6 separate regions of the Homo sapiens genome follow, and regions 1, 3, 4, 5 and 6 are each linked to region 2. The links are contacts of gene promoters, found by promoter capture Hi-C in blood cells and fetal thymus (Javierre and others, 2016). All regions are on one chromosome and are shown on one strand. Each heading gives the region's core, a stretch centred on a gene start or on the middle of the fragment in contact. The rest is flanking DNA. Distances are from core to core; before and after follow the strand shown.

Region 1 (4,559 bases), core at 509-3,008, 240 kb after region 2:
CTGGCCGTCCATCCCATATTTCACCAAGACTGGGAACTCTTCAAGGAAACTCCAAGATAGTGGAGGCTCAGTTTCTGCAGTGATGGAGGGGGTGGGGGTGGCTGTGATAAACTGCAATGATTTTCTGGGCTCTCCCCTTTCCCACTGACATACACATAGTCAGCTGCTCTTCTAGAGAATGGGAATTAAGCCTCAGACACTTAGACACGGTGCCTCTAGTCAATGAGCGTACAGCCCTCATCTGGAAAGCGTGGAAAACCCCCACCTCAAGGAAATTCCCCACCTCCAGGGATTTTGAGGGAATCTAACAATATAAGTAAGAGCCTGAGCTGAAGCACACACCCAGTGCCCACTCAACTGTTTTAGCTATTGTTAAATGTTCCCGAGAGAGTCGATTTCAACAACCACATCATATGAGATGCTGGAATGGCTCCTGCCTATCGTCTCTGCACTTTGGGAGGCAGAGGCAGGAGGATTGCTTGAGCCCAGGAGTTTGAGACCAGCCTGGACAACATAACAAGACCTCATCTTCACCAAAAAAAATAGAAAATTTAACCAGGCTGATGGCACATGCCTGTGGACCCATCTACTTGGGAGGCTGAGGCAGGCAGATTGCTTGAGCCCATGAGGGCAAGGCTGCAGTAAGCCCTGATCACACCACTGCACTCCAACCTGTCTCCAGACTAAAAAAAAAAAAAGCTGGATACCAGATTCTGGGGGAATACAGCTATGAGAAATGTAAGAATTCTCAAATGCTTGTCACTTCCCCATGTTGGTTTTGTTTAGCTCTGGGTGTTTTCCCACACCACTTATTAAGAAAGTCGTTAAAGGCTGGGCACAGTGGCTCATGCCTGTAATCCCAGCACTTTGGGAGGCTAAGGCGGGTGGATCACTTGAGGCCAGGAGTTCAAGACCAGCCTGGCCCACATGGTGAAACCCCCTCTCTACTAAAAATACAAAAAATTAGCTGGGTGTGATGGCGTGCACCTGTAGTCCCAGCTACTCAGGAGGCTGAGGCAGGAGAATCCCTTGAACCCAGGAGATGGAGGCTGCAGTGAGCCAAGATCGCACCACTACACTTCCAGCCTGGGTGACAGAGCAAGACTGTCTGAAAAAAAAAAAAGAAAAAAAGAAAGAGAGAGAGAGAAAGAAAGAAAGAAGAAAGAGAAAGAAAGAAAGTTGTTAAAATGAGAAGTTGATGCATGCCTGTTTGCAAAGGGAGAAATTGGAGCAATTCCATTTTGCTCTGCAGTCAGGTTTGTGAGAAGAACCCTCCTATCAGGGCAGGTTTAGTTTAGTAAGGTTAATTTTTTTTCCTGTGTTTTTTTTTGTATTGGCATTATATATTTTTTTCTTAAAAAAATCCTTGAAAATTCAAGTATAGTTAATATTAACAGGAAACAGCCAGTCTTGCACCTGTGAACCTGCAAAAAGGCAGGGCAGGAGGAGGGGAACTGGCCACCCTAGCAGAGGACACTCAGGCTGCATAAGGAACAGATGCTTCTGGTGGGGACACAGGGCTCTCAGAGTGCCCACACTGTGACAGGTAAGATTTACAGACACACATCAACAAGGACATTGGGGTCACTCTCCACACTTCTGTACACTGCGCAAAACATCCATTCCCAGAGAAGGAAGAAAAAGTTAGCCAGGCTTGGGAAAGTCTGTACTCCAAACACTTTTTAAAATTTCCATTGGAGTGTTGTGCACATCACAAACAAATATAAATGAGTATTAATAAAGTGAACTTTTGTATTATTAATTTCCTTTGGCTGCCGTCACAAATGATCCCAAACTTTGTGGCTTGAAACAACAGAATTATTATCTCAGTGTTCTAGAGACCAGAAGGCCAAAGTCAAGGTGTCAGCCGCGCCATGTTCCCTCTGAAGGCTCTAATCCTTCCCTGCCTCTTCCAGCTTCTGTTGGCTCTAAACAGTCCTTAGCTTGGGGCTGCATAACCCTCATCTTTGCCTCTGTCTCCACATGGCCTTCTCCTACTCCCTGTGTCTCTTACAAGGACCCTTGTCATTGGATTTACAGCCCACTCAGATAATACAAGCTGATCTTATCTTGAGATCCTTAATTTAATTACATGTACAAGCTGTGTGCGGTGGCTCACACCCACAATCCCAGCACTTTGGGAAGCCGAGGTGGGCAGATCACCTGAGGTCAGGAATTGGAGACTAGCCTGACCAACATGGTGAAGGCTGGCCAACATGGTGAAATCCCATCTCTACAAAAAAAAAAAAAAAAAAAAATTAGCTGGGTGTGGTGGTGCATGCCTGTAATCCCAGCTACTTGGGAGGCTAAGGCAGGAGAATTGCTTGAACTCAGGAGGCAGAGGTTGCAGTGAGCCGAGATTGCACCACCACACTCCAGCCTGGGCAACAGAGTGAGACTCCATCTCAAAAAAAAAAAAAATTACATGTACAAAGACTCCTTTTCCAAATAAAGTCACTGTCACAGGTTCCGAGGGTTGGGATGTGGACATATCTTTTGGGGGGCTATTATACTACTTACTACAACACTCAAGTAAAAAGACCACAAATGTCCATTAAAGGTCCTGAATAAGAATGATCATACCAGCTTTATCCATAACAGCCAAAACCTTGAAACAACCCTAATGTCCATCAAAAAGAGAATGAATAAATAAATTGTGATATATTCATACAGTGGAATACTATATGGCAACGAAAATGAGCAAACTATTGCCGCAAGTATCAGCGTGAATGCATCTCCATTAATATAAAGTTCAAGAACAGGCGAAACCAATCCATGGTGATGGAGGTCAGAATAGTGCTTACCCTCAGGGGATAATGACTAGGAGGGCGCGAGGGATCTTCTGAAGTGTTGGAAGTATTCTATATTTTTTTTTATTCTTTTAGAGACAGGGTCTTGCTCTGTAGCCCAGGCTGGAATGAAGTGACACAATCATAACTCACTGTAACCCCAACCTCCCAGACTCAACTGATCTTCTCATTTCAGCCTCCCGAGTAGCTGGGACTGCAGGTATGTGCCACCACATATGGCTAATATTTTTACTTTTTATTTTTTGTGGAGATGGGGTCTCGCTATGTTGCCTAGGCTGGTCTCAAATACCTGGCCACACGGGATCCTCCTGCTTTGGTCTCCCAAAATGCTGGGATTACAGGTATGAGCCATTTGCTTCCAGCCAGTATTCTATATTTTCATCTGAGTGGTAGTGGTAGTCATATGAAAAATTAATTATACTATGCATTTAAGATTTATGCACTTTACTGAATGTATGTTATAAAATTTAACTTGTCATTAAAATTTTACGTATTTTAAACTCAATTACATGTACAATTTCATGTATAAAAACTCAATTAGTTTAAAATACATAAAAGTTGCAATATATCATCATTGTTAAAACTATTTTAACAGGCTTATTGAAGTATAATTGATATATGATACACTGCACATATTTAAATTATACAATTTTTATCTTTGATATTGACATTTGTATATATCCATGAAATCACCACCACAATCAAGCTAACCAACATCACCCACAAAAGTCTCTTCCTGCCCTTCTCCATATTCCCCATGCTCCCTACAACATTAAAATTATATTAAAATTTTCTAAAAAATGAAAATAAATAAATATCTGGTTGATCTTGCTAGTTGCAAAAAGAATCATAAGTAAAATTACTGCAGTATGCCTTCTTTCAGGAATTACACCAGACCAGCAAGGAGGATTCAGAAACATAAATGCACTCTGCACTTCTGGCATAACTAGGGGGTATCTGAAAGGTCAGAGGAGGAAGAGCTACCAACACAGGAAAAGTCAAGTGAGTCGAGGAGGAAGCCAAGAAGGAGTGCCCATGGTTCTGATCTTAGACTAAGCCTACAAGGCACAAGAGGCTCGTTGTGATGGGCAAACCAGCAGTCACCTGTTTGGAACACAAAGAGTGAGAGATACAGCCTGGCCGTTGGAACCTTCCTGGCACTTGCTGCCATTGATGTCTGGGGCCAGGAAAGCAGTGCTGGAGGAGGGATCAACACACAGTTGTCTGGACAGGATGCTGCCTGCTTGCCAGGAGGAGGTGGGGCTGAGCTGCTGCACTGTAAGTGGCTTTCCGGATGCTGTTCTTGGCCATCTGGGGCAAAGGAAGTTTAAGCAACTCACACATACACATATTCCTCTAAATTAGCAACGTTCCTGGAAACTGGAAATGCTTCCTGCTAGGCAGAAACAAAAGCTTCCCCCTACTGTGCACAAATGTCTTCAATTACTTGGCACAGGAAGAGTTCCCCCCAAGTCAAAGGTAGCTAAAAGAGAAATGCATAACCGGCAGATTTAGGGGTGGGAACCTGATGTCTGCAACTCACTTTAGACACATAAAAAAGTCATATAGAGCAAGTACAGTGAAATGTTAAGGGCATAGGTGGTATGTATACAGCTATTTGCTGCATAGTTCTTTCGACTTTTCTGTGTTTGGAAAGTTTCATTAAAAAGATAGAGAAGAAAGGGTATTCAAAGAAACTGAACAAAGTTATCAAAAGAAAAAGGATAAAAGCAACATTAAAAAAAATTC
Region 2 (4,219 bases), core at 1,713-4,212:
GCAGGCATCCGCAACCATGCCCGGCTAATTCTTATATTTTTAGTAGAGAAGGGGTTGGCCAGGCTGGTTTTGAACCCCTGACCTCAAGTGATTCTGCCCTCCTTGGCCTCCCAAGTGCTGAGATTACAGGCACAAGCCACTGCACCCAGCCCACAGTGTCTTTTTATACCTTTCAATAAGTCACAATATGTGGTAGTGTTTCCCAACTTTGTTCTTCAAGATTGTCTTGGTTATTCTTGGCCCATTATATACAAATTTTGGAATCGGTTTGTAGTTTCCACCCCAAAACTCTTATTTTTTTTTAATTGGGACTTTATTGAATCTAAAGATAAATTTGGGGTAAATCAATATATATTCAATATTTAGTCTTCCAATCCGTGAATGTGGCAAATACTTCCATTGTTTAGTCTTTCTTTAATTTCTCCCAATAATGTGAAGTTATTAATGTAGAGGACTCACATATCTTTTATTATATTTATTCCTAGGTATTTAATTTTTTCATACTATCCTATAGTAATCTTTTAAGTTTCATCTTTTAATTCTTTGTTGCTGGTATATAAATCATATTTAATATATGACCTTATATCTAATTTTTTGCTTGTATCTTACCTCCAGTAAAATGCTGAATGGAAAAGTTGATGGCAGAAATACTTGTGTTATTCTTAGTATTTTACTATGAAGTATAATTTAGCCCTAGGTGTTTTTGTTTGTTTGTTTGTTTTTTGTTTTTTTTTTGAGACAGGGTCTCACTCTGTTGCCCAGGCTGGAGTGCAATGGCGCAATCTCAGTTCACTGCAACCTTCGCCTCCTGGGTTCAAATGATTCTCCTGCCTCAGCCTCCCAAGTAGCTGGGACTACAGGCACCCACCATCACACCCGGCTAATTTTTGTATTTTTAGTAGAGATAGGGTTTCGCCATGTTACCCTAACTGGTCTCGAACTCCTGACTTCAGGTGATCCACCCGCCTCGGCCTTCCAAAGTGCTGGGATTACAGGTGTGAGCCACTGTACCCGGCCTGTCCTAGGTTTTTAATAGAAACACTTTATCTTCTTAGAAAATTTCCTTTTGTTCCTAGTTTGCCAAAAGTTTTGAGCCATAAATGAATGTTGAGTTTTATCAGATGCATTCTCTGTATCTACTGAGATAATAATATGGTTTTTCTCCTTTATTCTGTTAATGTGGTGAATTACATTAATTGATGTGCAAATATAACCCAAATTTGCCGTCCTGAAATAACCCAATTTGGTCTTTATATTTATCCTTGTGTAAAGAAAATCACTGGAATCAATTTGCAATATTTTCTTTGGGATAGTGTGTCTGTGTTGACAAAAGAGATTGACCTGAGGTTTTTCTTTGTTGTAATGTCCTTATAAGGTTTTGAGATAAGGTGATGCAAGTCTCATAGAAATCTTCCATCTTTTTCTATGTTGGGAAAAGTCTGGAAGATCATTTAATTTATTTATTTATTTATTTATTTATTTGAGGCAGTGTCTCTGTCACCCAGGCTGGAGTGCAGTGGCGCAATCTGCACTCACTGCAACCTCTGCCTCCTGGGTTCAAGCTATTCTTCTGCCTCGGCCACCTGAGTAGCTGGGATTACAGATGCCCGACACCATGCCTGGCTAATTTTTTGTATTTTTAGTAGAGATGGGGCTTCACCGTGTTGGCCAGGCTGGCCTCGAATTCCTGACCTCAAGTGATTCTCCCATCTTGGCCACCCAAAGTGCTGGCAAGTGCTGGCATTACAGGTGTGAGCCACCGCCTGAGAAGGTGTTTAGAAAAGGGGATGGAAGGAAAGGGAGCAACTGAGAAAAATATTTGTTGAAGATGTATTGAGTCATGCAGATGGCTGAGGGAAGAGACGGGGACCAGCATGTGCAATGGTTCTGGGGCAAGAGCCCCTCTGCCTGCCTGACAGATTCAGGGAACAGCGGGAGGCCAGCGTGGTTGGAGGGTAGGGAGTAGGGGGAAAGGTGCAGGAGGTCAGAACAGTAACCAGAGATAAATTTTTTTAAATTTTTATTATTTTTTTTGAGATGGAGTTTCACGCTTGTCACCCAGGCTGGAGTGCAGCGGTGCGATCTCGGCTCACTGCAACCTCCGTCTCCCAGGTTCAAGTGATTCTCCTGCCTCAGCCTCCTGAGTAGCTGGGATTACAGATGCCCGCCACCACACCCAGCTATTTAGTAGAGACGGGGTTTCACCACGTTGGCCAGGCTGGTCTTGAACTCCTGACCTCAGGTGATCCGCCCGCCTCAGCCTCCCAAAAGTGCTGGGATTACAGGCATGAGCCACCGAGCCCAGCCCGAGAGGATTTGTTTACTGCTTTATCCCCAGTGCTAAGAAGTGTGCCCAGAACATAGTAAGAGTTCAGGAAATATGTGTTGAGTGTTCACATGTGACACCTTCATGCTCTTATTTCATCCCTGGGAATGTAGTCTCACCCCTGGGAAAGGAAGCGGGGCAGGTAGTAGAGAAAACTCTGAATAGACAAATTAAGTTTGCTCCTTTCCCAGCAAAATGGAGGGCTTGGAATAGAAATTAAATATGGTCAGCGGGGCACAGTGGCTCACGCCTGTAATCCCAACACTTTGGGAGGCCAAGGTGGGAGGATGGCTTGAAGCCAGGAGTTCGAGACCAGCTTGGGCAACATAACAAGACCCCGTCTCTACAGAAAAAATTTTAAACTAGCTGGGCATGGTTAGCATGCACCTGAAGTCCCAGCTACTCAACAGGCTGAGGTGAGAGGATTACTTGATTCCAGGAGTTTGAGGCTGTAGTGAGCTGTGATTGCAGCACTGCCTTCCAGCCTGGGTAAAAGAGCGAGTCCTTGTCTGAAAAAAAAAAAAAAAAGAAAAACAGTGTTGTCAGCTTGTCACAAAACAAAAGGGGATGGTGACCTCACACACACATGTGGTAGCTGCAATTCATCCCACTGCCCAGGGCTGAGGCCAGAGTTCATGGGTGACCTCACAATGTTCGGGGTGGCACCAGCCCACTGCCACAGCCCCAGTCCACCATGCCACCCATGCTGTGGCTGCTGCTCCACTTTGCTGCCCCGGCACTGGGGTTCTACTTTTCCATCAGCTGCCCCAGTGGTAAGCAGTGCCAACAGGCCCTACTCTCAGGCAATGATATTCTCCTGTATTGCAACTCCTCGGGGGCGCACTGGTACTATTTATTCACACAAGGCAAGAAGGGCAGGCTCACCAGCCTCACCAATATTTCCAATATGGAAATAATGCCCGAGGGCAGCCTTCTCATTAAAGATCCATTGCCCTCCCAGACGGGCCTCTACCACTGCTGGAACAAGAATGGCCGCCAAGTGGTGCAGTATGAAATTGACTTTCAGGATGTCACCACCCTGCATATAACACACAAGGACCTGGGTCAGAGGCCCCTGCAGAACGAGACCCTGCATTTGGGCAGCAAACAGCTCATTTTTACCTGGTGGGAGCCCTGGCAGGACTGCAACCGCTGTGAGGAGCCGGGCGAGTGTAAACGCCTGGGGTACCGCTACATTGAGGAGCCTCTGGAGGAAGCCATGCCCTGCTGGCTCTATCTGGGAGAGGTGCTGGTGTGGTCTAGCCGCTTGCGGCCTGAGCTGCAGGTGGAAGCCTGCCACGTCCAGTGCACCAATAACACACAGTTAAGGGTGGATTACGTCATTTTTGACAACTTCAGGCTCGATGAGAAGACAGAATTTGTGTGGCTCGACTGTCCCTTAGGATCCATGTACAGGTGATGGAATCCCTGCCTCTGGCCCCTACCCAGATTCTTCCGGTCAGGGGATCCTTCCTGGTAATATGTGCAGAGGGATGAGTGGGCGTTCTTTGCAGTTCAGCCACGTAGTGGTCATCAGGACAGTGCCAGGCCCTGCTCTTAAACAGTCCGAGGGGGACACAGCCCAGGGTGGTGCGAGCCGGGATGGGAGAAGCCCAGGCAGACAGATGGGGCTGTGATGGGGGAAGCCCAGGAAGCTTAGGGGCTCCAACAGGCCCCTGCTTCATCTGGAAAGGTCAGTGAGACCTTGGAGGAGAGGCTGGTGCCCCCGGGGCTTCCCATCAAGGCCTGCCTCCCAGAACTCACACTCATCTTCTTACTTCCTGCCAGGAGCCTCTGGAAAATAGCCCCTTCCCCTCCTCTCCCCCAGTCCACCTGCCCCTTAATAAGAAATGCAGGCTGGGCGCGGTGGCTCATGCCTGTAATCCCAGCACT
Region 3 (4,457 bases), core at 1,177-3,676, 210 kb before region 2:
CATCCAGGCTGGAGCATAGTGGCGTGATCTTGGCTCATTGCAACCTCTGCCTCCTGGGTTTAATTGATTTTCCCGTCTCAGCCTCTTGAGTAGCTGGGATTACAGGTGTCTGTCACCATGCCCTGCTAATTTTTGTATTTTTAGTAGAGACGGGGTTTCACCATGTTGGCCAGGCTGGTCTTGAACTCCTGACCTCAGGTGAACCGCCTGCCTCGGCCTCCCAAAATGCTGGGATTACAGGCGTCAGCCTCTGCGCCTGGACCCATCTGTATTTTTCAACCATGATATTTCTAATGCTTGGCACAGATCCTGGCACATCCTGGGGGGTGGATATATATTTGTTAAATGAATGAATGAATGAAACAATTGCCAGCCTCCCAAATGCTGGGATTACAGGTGTGAGCCACTGCACCCGGCCTTAAGACTCCATTTTTGAGCAGTGGGAAGTCACTTAGGGCCATAAGAGGGGAATGATGTGATGTGATATATGATTCTAGAAGATCAAGCCTGCTACTGTGTGAAGAATGCTCCCTAGAAGGACAGAACTGGAAGCAGAGGGATCCGCTAGGAGGGTGTTGCAGTCGCCAGGGGTTGAGGGGATTGAGGATGGCATGGATAAGGGAGAATGTGCACCCGGGGCAGAGAGGATCACTTAGGATTTGAGATATGTAACTTTGTTTTATTATTATTATTTCTAAATGTTTTTATTATTTTTATTTTTGGTAGAGATGGGGTCTTGTTATGTTGCCCAGGCTGGTCTCAAACTCCTGGCCTCAAGCCATACTCTCACCTTGGCTTCCCAAAGTGCTGGGATTACAGGTGTGAACCACCACGTCTGGGCTGATTATTATTATTTTTAGAGGTGGGGGTCTCGCTCTGTCACTTCAGGCTGGAGTGCAGTGGTGTGATCATAGCTCACTCCAGCCTCGACCTCCTGGGCTCCAGCGGTCCTCCCACCTCGGCCTCCCAAGTAGCTGAGACTACGGGCTTGGCCACCACACTTGGCTAATTTGCTATTTTTTGTAGAGACAGGGTCTTGCTGTGTTTCTCAGGCTGGTCTCAAACACCTGGCCTCAAGCGATTCTCCTGCTTTGGCCTCCCTAAGTGCTGGGATTACAGGTGTGGGCCATTGCACCCAGTGTGCAATTTTAAATAAATGACAATTAATAAGGAAGTACAGGATGCCAGAGAGAAATGGAACTCTCCTAGGGATGAAGAGGGAAGGAGAATCTAGACCAGCACGTGCTGATGGACTTTGAGACGTAATGGCCCCTGTGCCAGTGCAGTTCCCCTGAGTTCATTTGCGTATCACCTTTTTTGAGCCCTGCAGAGGCCTCACCAGAGGAGCTCACCCACTGTGAAGGTAACAGTTTATGCCCACCCCCCTCCGTGCATCTTCTCTTTTAGTTGTCTATTATGCAGCCTCCCCTGTCACTCCAGTCGTGGGGTCCTTCACTTCCACAGTCCCTGCAGAACCCATCCCCGGGCTGGTACATTGCTGAAGAAGAAAATTAAAAGGAGCGTCTCAAGGCTAGCTTCTTGGGAGAACTCTGCAGACTCTGTCTCTGTGGCCTTGGTGGTGGGCCTCTGTGGTTGTTCCCACCCACTGCCGGTAGCCATACCCCAACCTCTCTCTGCAGAGACCTCTCCTTCCTCCACTCTCCGTCCACCTGAGTCCTGTTTATTAGACTTCACTCCTGGCCAATCACACCAGCTGTGGTGGCCAAATGATGGTCCCCCCAAAAGAGACCCATATCCTAATCCCTGGAACCACGGCCAAAAGGGACTTTGCATTGGGATTAAGAAGCTTGAGATGGGGAGGTCATCTTGGACTATCTGAGATGGCCCTAAACATAATCACAAAAAGGAGGAGGCAGAACTGGGCGCATTGGCTCACACCTGTGTTCCCAGCACTTTGGGAGGCCGAGGCAGGCAGATCACTTGAGGCCAGGAGTTCGAGACCAGCCTGGCCAATATGGCAAAACCCCGTCTCATCTCTATTAAAAATCCAAAAACTTAGCCAGGCATGGTGGTGTGCATCTGTAATCCTGTAATCCCAGCTACTCCAGAGGCTGAGGCAGGAGAATCACTTGAATACGGGAAGTGGAGGCTGCAGTGAGCAGAGATCGTGCCACTGCACTCTAGCCTGGCAACAGAGTGAGACTCCGTCTCAAAAAAAAAAAAAGAATCTTTAGATGGGGAGATAATCTTGGACTATCTGAGATGGTCCTAAATGTAATCACAAAAAGAAAGAGGTAGAGGGAGAAATCAGACAGAAGGGGAGAAGATGCTGTGATCCTGGAGGACCGGAGTGATGTAGCTGCAAGCTAGCGCCCACCAGAAGCTGGAAGAGGCAAAGAATGGATTTTCTCAAGAGCCTCCGGAGAAATGGAATCCTGCTGAACACCTGTGTTCCATCCCAGCCGGATCTGGCTGGAGTCACCCCGAAAAGCTGTGGCAAGGGAGTTTCTGTCGAGGAGTTCCCCAAACCATCCCAAGAGGGGGCCAGATGGGTTCCCAAAGCAAGAAGCACCAAATGCCAGGGTGATTAGTGCAAAGCATTTCGGAGGGGAATTTGCAGAGTGGGCTGCAGCATCCTCAAGACGAACAATGAGAGAAAAGGGAGGGGGCAAGGGAGGGGTTTGCATGAGGGTTTAAGGAATTTGGCCCAGGGCCAGGGCTGGTTTCTTTCAGTGTCTAAACACCTTTATCAGTGCCTGGGAATGTTCAAGCCCTGGCTTGGGTTCAAGTCTGCAGAGAAAACACGCAGCTGGCTGGGTCGCAGGTTGGTCAAGGCACTCTGTTTCTTGGTCAGGACAGAGGAAAAAGGAGGGAAAATTAGGAGACCCTGCACCTTGATTTCAGCCCCGTGACACTGGTTTTGGACTTCTAGTCTTCAGTACTGTGAGAGAATAAATTTCTGTTATGTTAAGCCACCAAGTTTTTGGCAATTCATTACAACAGACAGAGGACATAGCAGACATGGCAGCCAACATTTATTGTATTGTATGACACTGTGTATCAAGTGCCATGCAAAAAGCTTTGCAAAGATGAACTCATGTAAATCTTAAAACATCCTAGGAAGTTACACACTCATCCCCTTTAACGGACGAGGAAGCTGAAGTATGTAGAGAAAGAAGTGATTTGCCTGGAGTCATGCATCTGGTGGACGGAGGAACTGAACTCTGAACTAAAAAGTCCATGGGCTTTTTTTATTTTTTATTTTTTTAGACAGGGTCTCGCTCTGTTGCCCAGGCTGGAGTGCAGGGGCACAATCATGGCTTACTGAAATCTCTGCCTCCCACGCTCAAGTGATTCTCCTGCCTCAGCCTCTGGAGTAGCTGGAATTACAGGTGCACGCCAGCATGCCTGGCTAATTTTTTTTTTTTTTTTTTAGACAGGGTCTCACTCTGTCACCCAGGCTGGAGTACAGTGGCACTATCTTGGCTCACTGAAACCTGCGACTTCAGAAATCCTCCCACTTCAGCCTCCCGAGTAGCTGGGATTACAAGATTACAGTGCGCCACCATGCCCGGCTAATGCTTGTATTTTTTGTAGAGACGGGGTTTCACCATGTGCCCAGGCTGGTCTTGAACTTTTGGACTCAAGCGATCTGCACACCTTGGCCTTCCAGAGTGTGGGGATTACAGGCGTGAGCCCCCGCGCCCGGCTGGAGTCCATGGTCTTTACCACCGCACTACACTCGCCACTGTACTGTGAGGGCCCCGGTTAGACCCAACTTCTTTGGTGGCCCCTGGAAGTCCTGTGCATCCCACAGAGGAGGACATGGGGGACAGGTCAGGGTGTGAGATGGTGTCAACTGCTTCCTGCAGGGTGTGTCTGTGTGGTTACCAGGCTTCTTGCCAGTGGTCTTCACTCTTTCCCTGAAACCATGAAGGAGTAACCTTCAACCCCAGACTCCCAAGACCCAGGCAACTCCCAGCCTTCCACATGTCCTCGTTCCTGCCATAGCCCCAGATCCCAGATGCTGCAATCTGTCGTCAGTCCCCACTCCCTGTCTCTAAACATTCTGGATACACAGGAAGTAGAGGGAAGATTCTATTTACTGTTTCTGTCTACCGTTTACCAAGTTGTTTGCTTTCATGGTTTCCATGAATGCTTATAAGACTCTGGATTTGATTGTGAAACAGAATGAAGAGCTTGGGAGGAGGAATGTTTATTCCAGGAATCCTGGAGAGGTTGCCTGACCTTTTCCTCCTTCCCCGAGCCCCCTTCTCCATCTGCTGTCCGTGCAGAGGTGACCACTGGACTAGACACAGGACTAAAAAGCCCTCCCCCTGCCGCTTCCGGGCCAGACCCCTGGGTAGCTAGCGCGGGTTCACACCACCCTTGATAAGGGCCAGAAGGCAGCTGGTCGTTTCCTTGGGCTGATTTTCAGTGCTGACCCTGAGCCAGGGAGGAGAGGCAGCAGAGTGTCTGGAGGCGGAAACTTGCAG
Region 4 (4,685 bases), core at 9-2,508, 150 kb after region 2:
AAAGAGAGGTTTTGTTTGCAAGATGCTGAACTTGCTTCCTGCTCTGAGAGGAGTGAGGGACTAGGGGCAGAGAAAAGGAGTTGCGCCTTGGGGTCCTGGAGGTTAGAGGCCCAGTCCTTCGGGATAAAGTCCTCACTTCTTGCCTGCCATTCAAGGCCCCACAGACACAGCCCAGGACCATGTCTCTCTCCAGGCTCCCCCATCTCTGGCTCAAATTTACACAGTCTCTGGGCTTCTGAAAACCTTGTTCCTTCTCCCTAGAACATTTGGCTTCTCCTTGCTTACCTATTGGCTTTGACTTGTCATTCAAGCCTCAGCTCTCGTGGCCCTTCCTCTGGGAAACTTGGCCTGACTTTCCAGGCTGGGCCAGCCCCTCCTCTGTGCTCCCCTGTGGCCCTACGCTTCCCTCATGTGAGCCCTGATCACTCTGCCGTGGCTGCCCCACCACAGACTCGGCCACCCTGGCAGCGTGTGGGCCCTACGAGGTCAGAGACCCGGCACTTCTCAGTCCTGCCCTGGCCCCTGCATCACCCAGGGCAAGATCAGGCCCAGGGGGACCCCTCCCTGCCACTCCCCAGCTGTGCGGCTCTGTGTCTGCTCTTCATCTGTGAAATGGTCGCGTTGTCCCATTCACACCAAAGGGATAAAAAGATGGCTCAGGACCCATCTCAGCTGCCTGCTGGACTGGAGAGGGTGTGGGCCGGGCTGATCCCAGGCCCTCCCCAGGACAGGCTGACCCAGACTCTGGGACAAGACCTGCCAACAGCAGAGCCCTGTGGTTTTGATCTCAGGACAGAGTGATGTTAACACAGGTTAAAAGTCAATTTCAGGCTGGGCACGGTGGCTCACCAGCACTTTGGGAGGCAGAGGCAGGTGGATCACTTGAAGTCAGGAGTTCAAGACCAGCCTGGCCAACATGGCAAAATCCCATCTCTATTGAAAATACAGAAATTAGCTGGGCATGGTGGCATGCTCCTGTACTCCCAGACACTTGGGAGTCTAAGGCATGAGAATTGCTTGAACTCGGGAGGTGAATTTTGCAGTGAGCCGAGATTACACCACTGTGCTCCAGTCTGGGTGACAGAGTGAGGCTCCATCCCCCCTCAAAAAAAAAATCAATTTCATAGTGACAGCTAATACTTGTAGAGCATTCACTATATTCACTATATTGCCAGCTACTGTTTATTTGTTTGGCTCTCACAACAACCCCACAAGAGAAGTGTTATTTTCACCATTCTTTCTCTTGTTAAAGGGGAAACTGAGGCACGGAGAGGTTAAGTGACGTCCCCAAGAGCACACAGCTGAAAGTGGTGGTACTGGCATCCTAACCAAGGCAGGCTGACTTTGGGATCTGTGTTCTCAATCTCAATGCTATACAGATCAGTGGGATAATTCCCTGCTTTGAAAAATGAAATAGAATAGAAAAGAATGTAATGCAAAGTATTGAGTGCATTTTCCTATTTGGTGACACTTTGTGTGCTGTGTATGCATATATTGGTGTGGTCAGCTGAAGAACAGCCCCTCAAAGATGTCCACAGTCTAATCGCTGTATCCTGTGATACGTTACATGGCAAAATGGACTTTGCAGATGTGATTAAGGTTCTAGACCTTGGGAAGGGAGAGATTAACCTGGATTATCTGGCTGGGCTCAGTGTAATCACGTGGGCTCTTAAAAGTGGGAGACAGAGGCCAGAGAGTCCATCAGAAAGAGGCAGGGGATTTCGAAGCATAATGGGGACTTGACCTGCTGTTAGTGGCCTTGAAAATGATGGAAGGGGCCATGAGCCAAGGAATGTGGGTGGCCTCTAGAAGTAGACACCAACCCTCAGGTTACAGCCAGCAGAGAGACAGGGCCCTCAGTCCTATAGCCATCAGAAACTGAATTCAGCCAACAATTTAAATAATTAAGGAAACAGTTCTCCCCTAGAGCCTCCAGAAAGAAATGCACTCCTGCAGACACGTTGATTTTTAGGCCAGCGAGAACTGTGTTGGAATTGTAAGAAAAAATTTGACATAGCAAGACCCCATCTGTACAAAACATTTTCAAAAAATTAGCTGGAGTTGGGCCGGGAGGGGTGGCTCATGCCTGTAATCCTAGCACTTTGGGAGGCCAAGGTGGGCAGGTCATGAGGTCAGGAGATCAAGACCATCTGGCTAACATGGTGAAACCCCATCTCTACTGAAAATACAAAAAATTAGCCAGCTGTGGTGGCAGGTGCCTGTAGTCTCAGCTACTTGGGAGGCTGAGGCAGGAGAATTGCTTGAACCCAGGGGGTGGAGGTTGCAGTGAGCTGAGGTCGCGCCATTGCACTCCAGCCTGGGCAACAGAGTGAGACTCCATCTCAAAATAAATAAATAAATAAATAAAAATTAGCTGGGTGCAGTGGCTCACACCTGTAGTCCCAGCACCTTGGGAGGCTGAGCAGGAGGATCGCTTGACACTAAGAGTTTGAGAACTGCCTGGGCAACATAGCAAGACTCTGTCTCTACAAAAAAAGTTTTAAAAATAGCCAGGTGTGGTGGTGCATGCTTGTAGTCCCAGCTACTCAGGAGGCTGAGGCAGAAAGAGCACTTGAGCCAGGAGTTGGAGGCTGCAGTGAGCCATGATTGCACCACTGCACTGCAGCCTGGGTGACAGAGCGAGATCCTGTCTCAAAAAAAAAAAAAAAAAGTGTTATTTTAAGCTGCTGAGTTTGTTGCAATTTGTTACAGCAGCAAGAGATAGAAAACTAATAGAATTAGATCCTGAAATGAACTATATTTTGTATTGTGGGTCTCCAACAAAAATGTTTGAAAGACTGCTTAATGCTCTTGACAAAGATCACTTGGCAGCAGGACAAGGGTGAGAGGCCGCAGACATTTGTCCTTTGGGCACCAGCCAGTACTACTGCCCACTGCTAACCTCATCCCAACTTCTGCCTGGGCAGTCTCCCCAAGGGCAGAGCCCGCGGTCAGGCAGAAGTCAATCGGAGACTCACATTCCCCTGGCCACAGTGAGAGGTACAAGAAGGAGTCAGTTGAAGCCACAGAGACGCAGTGCAAATCATGCTGGAGCTTCTGAGACCCACGGAGCTCTCTTTCCTGCTGGGCTGAGAAACCTGAGTGGCTGCAAGGTGTGGAGCCACTGTGGTCAGGGTGAGCCTGTCTGGATGTGGAGCCAATTTGGTGGGAAGCATGAAACCAAGGCCAGTGATGTCGAGCGCCTCACTGGGCCAGGCCTGAAGTAGCTACTCTGAGATCATTAATTATGCAACCCCACAAAATGGGCGGAACTGGTTTTCTGGACCTGGCCGGCAGAACGTGCTGGCTGGCATGGAGAGGATGCCACTCACCGCAGTCCACCAGGTGTCTCCAGGGCCTCACTAGGAGGCCGTGCTGCTGGCACTGCTGGACATAGCTCCCCAGAGCCTCGCACAGGATCTGCCGGGAACCCCTTGTGGCACAGAGGTCACGGATGCAGTTCTCCATGTGGACTTGGGCCTGGGCCAGCTCATCACAGGCCTGGAAGGGCCCATCGTGGGCACCCAGCAGCCCACAGAAAGCCAGTGACTGGTACCGGCCCTCTCGGTCATGGGGGCACAGAGGGGCAGTGCCCACGGTGGAGCAACTGGCTGGGGAATCCAGGCCCTTCAAGCTGAGTGCAAACACCTCCGGGTCAGGCAGGAGGGAGCCATCAGGGGCATGGAAGTCATCATGGGGGTCCCCGTTGAAGTCCCCACACAGGCTGCAGAGGGTGCCAGCGTAGGACTCAGGCACCATAATGGATACATGGTGGCTCCAGTCGTAGGAGACCAAGAGGCCAGCGTCAGTCTCCAGCATGGCCCCAGAATCGCTGAAATAGACGTGCACTTGGCCGCCAGCCAGGCGTAGGGGCAGGTGGGCCTGGGTCCTGTTAACCTGGAGACACACCCGGGGCCATGTCCACATCAAACACCCCTAGGTGGGTCTGGGAATCCCTGAGAACCTTTGGGGTGAGGCTGTGTCCCCTCAAGTCTTCCTAGGATGTGAATGGGTCCTCCCCGGATTCCTGAGTCTAAGCCCGCCCTTCTGGGGCCTGATCCCAGCCCCTGCCCAAGCTCACCTGTGCCCTCCCGGGGGTCTGAGCCTCCATCATCACCTTCACCCCGTGCACGTCCACTTCGATCGGCCGAGCCCCAGTCATGAGGGCCGTGGGACTTAGGTACTCATTGTCCACCCACACTGTGAAAGCTTGTGCCCTCAGGCCGGCCTGACAGGTGCGGCTCAGCACATAGTGACAGGCACCCTGGGCTGTGAGGGCTGTGCTGTTGAAGCTGTGGTAATGGGGGTCACCTGACACCCAGCTGCTACCTCTCCGGACCCCACAGTACCAGGCCCCGGTGAGCAGGAAGCAGGCCTCCCCGTCCTCACACGCCTGGGGGCTGCAGTGGGGTGGCTGCCCAGCCTCCTTGCACTCACACAGCTCACGGCAGTTGGGGCTCAGCTCCTGCGGTCCCAGGTGCAGAATGTGGCCCTGCTGTGGGGTCGGGGCCTTGGCATGGGGTGAGTGTGATGGCGCAGGTTCCCAGCGAGAGGCATTCAGATAGAAATGCACTTGTCAGCAAGAAGGAGAAGATGCCATGAGGCTCTGAAACATAGCTGGGACTACAGGTACGGGCCACCACACCTGGCAAATTTTAAAATTTTTGTAGAAATGGGTTCTCACT
Region 5 (4,471 bases), core at 511-3,010, 160 kb before region 2:
ATAATGTAGAAGTCATCAAAAAATGATGAGAAATTTGAGCACATAAAAAGAGATAACCTATGAAAAACATTACAATCAACAAAGTAAAAGGCCACTATCCTTCTACTTATACACCTGATATGAGGTTTGTAAGCCAATATTCAAAGAACTCCTGTAAGTCAAATAAGAACAAAGCAAGTATTGGGAGAAACACAAATGACTCTACACAATATGTAAATATTGTCTATCTCATTTTTAATCTGGGAGATTAATATGAAAATAATACAGAGTATGACGGTTAATTTTATGTGTTGGCTTGGCCACGCCACAGTGCCCAGATATTTGGTGAAACGTTATTCTGGGTGTTGCTGTGAGGGTGTTTTTGGATGAGATTGACATTTACATTGGTGGACTCTGAGCAAAGCAGATTGCCCTCCAAAATGTGGGGGACTCCTCCAGTCACTGAAGGCCTGAACAGCACAAAAGGCTGACCTCCACATGCAAAAGAGAATTCTCCTGCATGCTGGATTCAGACTTTGTCTGCAGCAGTGGGTCTTCCTGGCTCACCAGCAGGCTCTCTTTAGACTCAACCACAACTTCTTCCTGAGCCTCGAGTCAGCCAGCTTCCTCCGTCAGATTTTGGGCTCATCAAGCATTCACAATCACATGAGCCAATTCCTTAAATAAATCTCTTTATACACACATGCAGACATGCAGACACACACACACACACACACAAACACACACACAGAAACACACAGACACACACACGGAGACACACAGTAACACACAGACACACACATGGACACACACACAGACATGCACACAGAAACACAGAGACACACACAGACACAGAGAGATATACACACACACAGAGAGACACACAGACCCACAAAAACACACAGAGACACACAGAAACACATACAAACATGCACACAGAAACACATACACAGAGACACACATTAACACACAGAGCCACAAACATACATGCACACAGACGCACACAGAGACATACAGACACACACATGGAGACACATATACAGACACACACAAAAACACACACAGAGAGAAACACACACACAGACATGCACACAGAGACACACATAGAGACACAGACAGAGACACACATACAAAAACATACAGAGACACACAGAGGTACACACACACAGAGACACACACAGACATGCACAGAGACACACACACAGATACATACACAGACACACACACAGACACACACACACCGCAGAGACACACATACACACACAGACACATGCACAGAGACACAGACACACAGACACACCCACAGACACACATACACACACTCTATTGGTTCTGTTTCTCTGGAAATCCCAGACTAATACTTAAGTTTCTAAATTCTAAATATCATCTCAAAAAATTAAAATACAATATTTTCTCTTGTCAGCAGAGTTATGGGGTCTCTTACAGACTGTTGGGGAAGAAAGGGTTGACTCAGCCGGGGAAGGTAATTCATCGATATTTATCAAAGCTTTACATGTACATATCATTTAATTCAACAGTACGACTTGTAGGAAATGCACAGTGCACGTGCCTTTATGTAAAAGGATGTTCTCATAGCATTATTTATAATAGTAGAAAATTAGAGATATTTTTAAAAAATCATTCATTCATTTATTCACCATCAAATGCCCAGTCTGTGCTAGGCACGGTTTTAGGCACCCACTGGGTATATAGTGACAAAGAAAACTGACGTGGTGACTGCTGTCATGGGCTTCTCAGTCTAGTAGGAGTCACGTTAAACAAATGAACACACACATACAAACATCAAACCATGAGAGCGCAGTGTGAGATAATATCAGAAGGGGGCTACTTGATATTGGATGATCAGGGAAAGCCTCTCTAAGGCGTGACATTGGACAGAAACTTGGAAGAAGTGGGGAACTAGCCAGGTAAAGAGTGGAAGGCATGGTGCATGCAGACATTCAGAGCTTGGCCTGCTCAAGGGACAGAGAGAAGTCCAGGCCAGAAGAGCGATGTCAGTGACACTTCTCTGGGGATGGCCCCAGAGAAGCTTGGAGAGAGAGGCAGGGCCTCAAAGGCTGTGAGGAGGAGGCCAGAATGGAAAGCCATTGAAAAGTTTTATTCAGGGCAATGACAGGATCCAATTTATATTCCTCATGAAACTGGCCTGATTGTCCCATAGATGCTTCTTTTGGATCAACGTAGAAATTCACCCTTCTTTTTTTTTTTTTTTTTTTTTTTTTAGATGGAGTCTTTCTCTGTTGCCCAGGCTGGAGTGCAGTGGTGCGATCTTGGCTCACTACAACCTCTGCTTCCCAGGTTCAAGCAATTCTCCTGCCTCAGTCTCCTGAGTAGCTGGGACTACAGGCACATGCCACCAAACCCGGCTAATTTTTTGTATTTTTAGTAGAGACAGGGTTTCACTGTGTTAGCCAGGATGGCCTTGATCTCCTGACCTCGTGATCCACCCACCTCGGGCTCCCAAAGTGCTGGGATTACAGGCATGAGCCACTGTGCCTGGCCCCCTCCTGGTCTTAAAGTTTGAAGCCTGCATTTGTCTTATCTGAGTTCTTGCCACAGGAAATCAACGAATTGAAACTCACCAGATCACTGCATCCAGACAATGAGATGCCAGACCCCTCATCCCTCCTGATTTCCTTATCCCTCCCTAATTCCTTTGACCAACTCCTCTTCCTTACCTCTCCCTAACTCTGGTTTTCCCACATGTAGTTACATTTCTTCCCTGCTGTATAACCCCCTGATTTTAGTTGACTAGGGAGATGGATTTGAGACTGATCCCCATTTTCCTTGGCTAAAGCACTCAATTAAAGCCTTCTTCCCAGGCAGTACTCATTGTCTTGGTGATTGGCTTTCTGTGCAGTGAGCAACGGGACCTAGACTGGAGCCCTGGCATTTCAGTAACAGATTTTGGTTCCCTACCTGGGAACACATTGCTTGTGGCTCAGCTGCTGCAGACTGGGACTTTCAGAAGCCCCCTGTACAGCTGTCTGACCTTTTTTTGGCTGGAGGTGGGTTTCCATCTTTTTCTCTTTGGCTCTGCTGCTGCCAGCCCCAAATGTATTGCTGATTGCCTAGGAAGAACAGACTTTGAAATTTGATATCTGTGTCTGGATGGATGAGTGTCTTTTCTGGGTTCCAGACAGCAGGAAGGGCTCCTCTCAATTTGGGAATTTTCTAAGGAATTTCCATTTGCAGGTTGAATAAGCCCAAATGATGGAGGGAGGAAAGCACCATGACTGTTTCAGTTTGGACACTCTTGGGGCTTGTTAGTGAGAACTAAGCTCTGATTTTTAAAATCTTGCCCAAATTCCTATCTAAGGGGTCTAGAGAAGTCATGCTCTACAAACCATAAATTCTCATCAGATTTTTGTTGTTGTTGTTGAGACAGTCTTACTCTGTTGCCCAGGCTGGAGTGCAATGGTGCGATCTCAGCTCACTGCAACCTCTGCCTCCTGGGTTCAAGCAATTCTCCTGCCTCAGCCTCACGAGTAGCTGGAATTACAGGTGCCTGCCACTACGCCCTGCCAATTTTTGTATTTTTCGTAGAGATGGGGTTTCACCATAATGGCCAGGCTGTTCTCGAACTCCTGACCTCAGGTGATCTGCCTGCCTCAGCCTCCAAAAGTGCAGGGATTACAAGCGTGAGCCACCATGCCCAGCCCAGATGGGTTTTATTTAACTTACATATTGTGACTTACTTTCCAATCTTACTCTGGTATAACATTACACGACAAAGAAGAAAGTCATAATATTTTACCCCAAAACATGTTTCTTTGCCATATTTTGAAATGGCCCTGCAAAGTTGTCCTTTGTGGGGGGGAAATGTGCATCTGTAAAGAATCTCTATTAACATAGCTAGATCTTTTTCTTTCAGGCCCTCCCAATCCTGAAGAGATTAACTAAGAGTCTAGCACCTTTTAAAGGTCTGAATAGGAAACATTTGTCAACTATTGTTTCTAAGGGCAGCCACTGTAAGACTTCAAAAGAACCTTGGTCTCCACAATCTTTTAACCTGAACATTTCCTTTCTATGATCCCAGGTCTTTAGACAAACTCAACCAATTGTCAACCAGAAGATGTTTAAATTTACCTATAGCCTGGAAGCCCCACCCTGCTTTGAGTTGTATCGCCTTTCTGGGCCAAACAAATGTATATCTTAAATGTATTTGATTGATGTCTCATGCCTCCTTAAAATGTATAAAACCAAGCTGCACCCCAACGACCTTGGGCACATGTTCTCAGGACCTCCTGGGGACTGTGTCATGGGCCATGGTCACTCATATTTGGCTCAGAATAAATCTCTTCAAATATTTTACAGAGTTTGACTCTTTTTGTTGACATTAGTAATTGTGTGTGTGCACAACTGCGTCTGGACATGTGAGTGATTTCTGGTGGGTACCAGAGGGCTTCTCTTGATTTGGGAAACTCAGAAGATATTTCTGTTTGCAGATGGAACAAGATCAACTTTTGCA
Region 6 (4,307 bases), core at 485-2,984, 180 kb before region 2:
AGATGTTGCTAAGAAGGCCAAACCAATCGGTGCCATCTCTGATTGCTGGTTCATTTTTGAAAAGAGACTGTAGAGAATGTTATGATAAAATTGCAATCCTCAGGGTCCAACAATCAGTACACTCTTCCACCCCTTCCTCTTGTGTTTTTTTTTTTTTTTTTTGGTTGTTGTTTGCTTTAGACGGAGTGTCTGCTCTTGTTGCCCAGGTTGGAGTGCAATGGCATGATTTTGGCTCACTACAGCCTCTGCCTCTTGGATTCAAGTGATTCTCCTGTCTCAGCCTCTCAAGTAGCTGGGATTACAGCTGCACACCACCACGCCCAGCTAATTTTTATATTGTTAGTAGAGATGGGGTTTTGCCATGTTGGCCAGGCTGGTCTTGAACTCCTGGCCTCAGGTGATCTGCCTGCCTCAGCCTCCCAAAGTGCTGGAATTACAGGCATGAGCCACCATGCCCGGCACACCCCTCCCTCTTATCACTGTGTCCCACCCCTAGGAGCAGGACTTCCCCAAGGTCATTGAGAGTAACATTGTAAATGGTGGCATCTTGAGCCCATCTTTAGGAGAAAGGTCTCCCATAAGTTTACAGAAATCAAGTGACCTAACGTCACATCACAGTCCCTTTCTGGTGGACACTCACTCTCCCCACCATTAACCTGAAAACCGGAGAGGGCTGAAGGAGCCTTGCCGGTAACCTTCAAACTTCCATTCCTCGCTTAACACAATGCCTCAGGAACCATTTATTTACCGGGAGGTGCAATGGAACTAGTTGAATCGCCCTAGCTTATATTAACTAGGTGCTATCAAGTAGTCTAACAGTAAAATTGAGGCTTTCACAAAGGCTTTGTGAATTCCCCCGTTCAAAATAAAACACACTAAGCCTGTTTATAACTTTTGCCCTGAAAATCTTTCTTTAATCTTTGCTGACAGGAATTAAATATGCACTTTCCCTAGGATGACATAGGACAAATATAATTAGTATTATGCTTTCCTTCTCCCCCAGTTCCTATAGCCTCTAAGATTGGAAATCCTACATATAGTTTGGGTTAATATTCCACCTAATTGTAGATGAAGTAATCCTTCCCCATAAAACAAGAAGAAAAACTCCAATTTAAACAATCCTTAGGCCAGGCGCGGTGGCTCAAACCTGTAATTCTAGCACTTTGAGAGGCTGAGGTTGATGAATCACTTGAGGCCAGGAGTTCAAGACCAGCCTGGCCAACATGGTGAAACCCCATCTCTACTAAAAATACAAACATTTGCCAGGTGTGGTGGCGCATGCCTGTAATCCCAGCAACTCGGGAAGCTGAGGCATAAGAATTGCTTGAGCCTGGGAGGCGGAGGTTGCAGTGAGCCAAGCTCATGCCACTGCACTGCAGCAGTCTGGGTTACAGAGCGAGACTCTGTCTCAAAAAAAAAAAAAAAAAAAAAAAAAAAGCATCTTTAGAACAGGAACTAACATAACATGGTGAATACAGGTCTGTGCGGCGCAATTACATCCCATCCATCTGAGCCGGCTTTGTTACTTCTTTATCTCCTCATGGAATAGTTCTGATTGTTAAGTATCATATTTAATATCTCAACAAGCTTTGCATTTTATCAGGCAAACTTTAAACTCACTTTGAGAGGTTAAGTGGCATTAGACTTTATGAAATTTCGAATCATTAAAGACACATCAGGTAGCAGAAGGTTTTATATGTGCACAATTGCACTTAGCAGAGTAATCCTGTCTGTCATCTCACCAGGTCAGCAATTCTCAAACTTGTGGATCTCAAGGTCGGTTTATACTCTTGAAAATTACTGAAGGGATGGGTGTGGTGGCTCACCCCTCTAATCCCAACACTTTGGGAGGCTGAGGCAGGTGGATTGCTTTAAGCTTAGGAGTTTGAGACCAACCCGGGCAACATGGCAAAACCCCATCTCCACAAAAAATACAAGAATTAGCTGAGCATGGTGGCGTGCACCTGTAGTTCCAGCTACTTGGGAGGCTGAGGTGGGAGGGTTGCTTGAGCCTGGGAAGACGAGGCTGCAGTGAGTTGTGTTCATGCCACTGCACTCACCCTGGGTGGCAGAGTGAGACACTGTCTCGAAAAAAAAAAGAAAAAAGAAAAAAAAGGAAAGAAAAGCAAAAATGAAAATTCCTGCCAGGCGTGGTGGCTCATATCTATAATCCTAGGACCTTGGGAGACTGAGGTGGGCAGATCATGAGGTCAGGAGTGCGAGACCAGCCTGACCAACATGGTGAAACCCTGTCTCTACTAAAAATACAAAAATTAGCCGGGCATGGTGGCTTGTGCCTGTAATCTCAGCTACTTGGGAGGCTGAGGCAGGAGAATCGCTTGAAGCCAGGAGGCAGAGGTTGCGGTGAGCCGAGATCACACCACTGTACTCCAGCCTTGGCAACAAGAGTGAAACTGCGTATCAAAAAAAACAAAAAAAAAAAACAAAAAAAAAACAAAGTTAAAACAGAAAAATTTAAAAATGTGTATTAACTTATCTTATAATAATAATAACCATAAAACCATTACATGTTAATATAAATGACACGTTCCTAGAAAAAACAACTATATCTTCAAAAAATTCGTGACAGTGGCATTGTTTTACATTTTTGCAGATCTCTTTAATGCCTGGCTTAATAGAAGACAGCTGTATTTTCCTATCTGGTCTGCATTCATTCCGTCATGATATCACGTCACGTAGCTCTCAAAACCTCCACTGTGCACATTATTTGTGAGATAATGAAGGTGAAGAGAGCAATCAGCATTTTAATAGCATTATGAATAGTTTTGACCTCACAGACAGTGCTTTGAAAACTGCTGCCCTAGATTCACATAGTTCGAAGCTACTTGGGTTGGGTTTTCCTTGATGTGTGGTATTAAAGGGAAGAAGGAAGGGAGGGAGGGAGTAACTCATTGAGGAACTCCTACCATCTTACAGTGTTTAAAATAACCACTAAATAATGGAAACAGAACATACAGTTTCCAAGTCAGTGGAGGAATAAATGAAATGAGAAAGAAAAGAAATAAACGAACTGAATCTCAAAAGAAGGCTAGAGAGAAGAAAAAAAGAAATATTAAAAGGTGAGGGATGGCTTGGCAAGGTGGCTCACACCTGTAATACCAGCACTTTGGGAGGCCGAGGTGGTTGGATCACCTAAGGTCAGCAGTTCAAGACCAGCTTGGTCAACATGGTGAAACCCCGTCTTTAATAAAAATGCCAAAATTAGCCAGGCATAGTGGCACACACCTGTAATCCAAGCTACTTGGGAGGCTGAGGCACGAGAATTGCTTGAACCCAGGAGGTGGAGGTTGCAGTGAGCTGAGATCATGCCGTTGACTTCAGCCTGGGCAACAGAGTGAGACTGTGTCTGAAAATAAAATAAAATAGAATAAAATAAAATAAAATAAAATAAAATAAAAGATGAGGGAAATAAAAAGCACAAAATAATATGGTAGACTTTTTGCTTTTTCTTAAATAGGTGTGTTCACTCTGTGATATTTGTGATAGTTTATTTGGCCTGTACACTTATTATTTGGCCATGCATGGTGATATGGTTTGGCTGTGTCCCCACCTAAATCTCATCTTGAATTGCAGTTCCCATAATCCCAAGTGTCATGGGAGGAACCAGGTGGGAGGTAATTGAATCATGGGGTGGGTTACCCTCATGCTGTTCTCCTGATAGTGAGTGAGTTCTCACGAGATCTAATGGTTTTATCAGATGGCTTCTCCCATTTTGCTCTGCACTTCTTGCTGCTGCCATGTGAAGAAGGACCTGTTTGCTTTCCCTTCCACCATGATTCTATGTTTTCTGAGGCTTGCCCAGCCCCGTGGAACTGTGAGTCAATTAAACCTCTCTTCTTTGTAAATTACCCAGTCTCGGGTATGTCTTTACTAGCAGCGTGAGAATGGACTAATACACACGGTATGCATGTATATTTCAATATATGTGCACATACTTCACTAAAAGTATTTAAAATAAGATGACAGAGATAAATTCAAATATATTGGAAATTATTATTTTATAACTATAAATGGACAAAATGGTACAGTTAAAAGACAAATATTGTCCAGTTGTCAGACCAGATTACAAAAAAATCCAACCACTCTATACACTGCTTAGGAAAAGCACATTTAAAACATAAAGATATAGCAAGGTTGAATGTAGAAGGATGGACAGAGATGGACTGGCAAATAATAAGCAAAAACCAAGTTGATGTGGCTCTGTTAATATCAGACAAAATCAATGTTAAGGCAGAAAGAATTTTGAAAGTTTCAATTCACCAGGGAGACAGAACTACAAGGAGAAA

The links. Contacts are between HindIII fragments. The CHiCAGO score rates a contact against its expected background, and 5 or more counts as called.
Region 1: a fragment that was not itself captured here is called in contact with the fragment with the promoter of FAM187B in region 2 in 1 of 17 cell types (non-activated CD4 T cells); the score reaches 5.6 in non-activated CD4 T cells.
Region 3: a fragment that was not itself captured here is called in contact with the fragment with the promoter of FAM187B in region 2 in 2 of 17 cell types (total B cells and naive B cells); the score reaches 7.1 in total B cells.
Region 4: a fragment that was not itself captured here is called in contact with the fragment with the promoter of FAM187B in region 2 in 4 of 17 cell types (naive B cells, total B cells, naive CD4 T cells and 1 more); the score reaches 13.3 in naive B cells.
Region 5: a contact is called between a fragment that was not itself captured here and the fragment with the promoter of FAM187B in region 2, in 3 of 17 cell types (monocytes, naive B cells and total B cells). The highest score is 13.3, in monocytes.
Region 6: a fragment that was not itself captured here is called in contact with the fragment with the promoter of FAM187B in region 2 in 3 of 17 cell types (monocytes, naive B cells and total B cells); the score reaches 10.6 in monocytes.

Annotation. Positions count from the first base shown.
Region 1 is chr19:34,985,206-34,989,764 of GRCh38, reverse strand. No RefSeq gene overlaps it. Among named protein-coding and RNA genes, the nearest start is that of GRAMD1A, 13 kb to the left of the region's middle. The HindIII fragment of the contact is 4,935 bases long and covers 1-4,225 here.
Region 2 is chr19:35,227,482-35,231,700 of GRCh38, reverse strand. FAM187B (family with sequence similarity 187 member B) reads left to right here and starts at 2,962. Exons shown (of 2, transcript NM_152481.2): 1 at 2,962-3,742. The coding sequence starts at 3,021. The HindIII fragment of the contact is 8,324 bases long and covers 1-3,983 here.
Region 3 is chr19:35,436,956-35,441,412 of GRCh38, reverse strand. No RefSeq gene overlaps it. Among named protein-coding and RNA genes, the nearest start is that of FFAR2, 9.1 kb to the left of the region's middle. RefSeq lists enhancers at 2,945-3,906, 3,907-4,457. The HindIII fragment of the contact is 1,233 bases long and covers 1,810-3,042 here.
Region 4 is chr19:35,079,639-35,084,323 of GRCh38, reverse strand. All of the region lies in intron 3 of HPN-AS1 (HPN antisense RNA 1), which reads left to right. It also overlaps the pseudogene LOC100420797. Among named protein-coding and RNA genes, the nearest start is that of HPN-AS1, 24 kb to the left of the region's middle. RefSeq lists an enhancer at 1-206. The HindIII fragment of the contact is 5,907 bases long and covers 1-4,211 here.
Region 5 is chr19:35,389,643-35,394,113 of GRCh38, reverse strand. No RefSeq gene overlaps it. Among named protein-coding and RNA genes, the nearest start is that of LINC01531, 14 kb to the left of the region's middle. The HindIII fragment of the contact is 543 bases long and covers 1,489-2,031 here.
Region 6 is chr19:35,410,222-35,414,528 of GRCh38, reverse strand. It overlaps LINC01531 (long intergenic non-protein coding RNA 1531), which reads right to left. Exons shown (of 5, transcript NR_040046.1): 4 at 3,247-3,367. Among named protein-coding and RNA genes, the nearest start is that of LINC01531, 6.8 kb to the right of the region's middle. The HindIII fragment of the contact is 289 bases long and covers 1,590-1,878 here.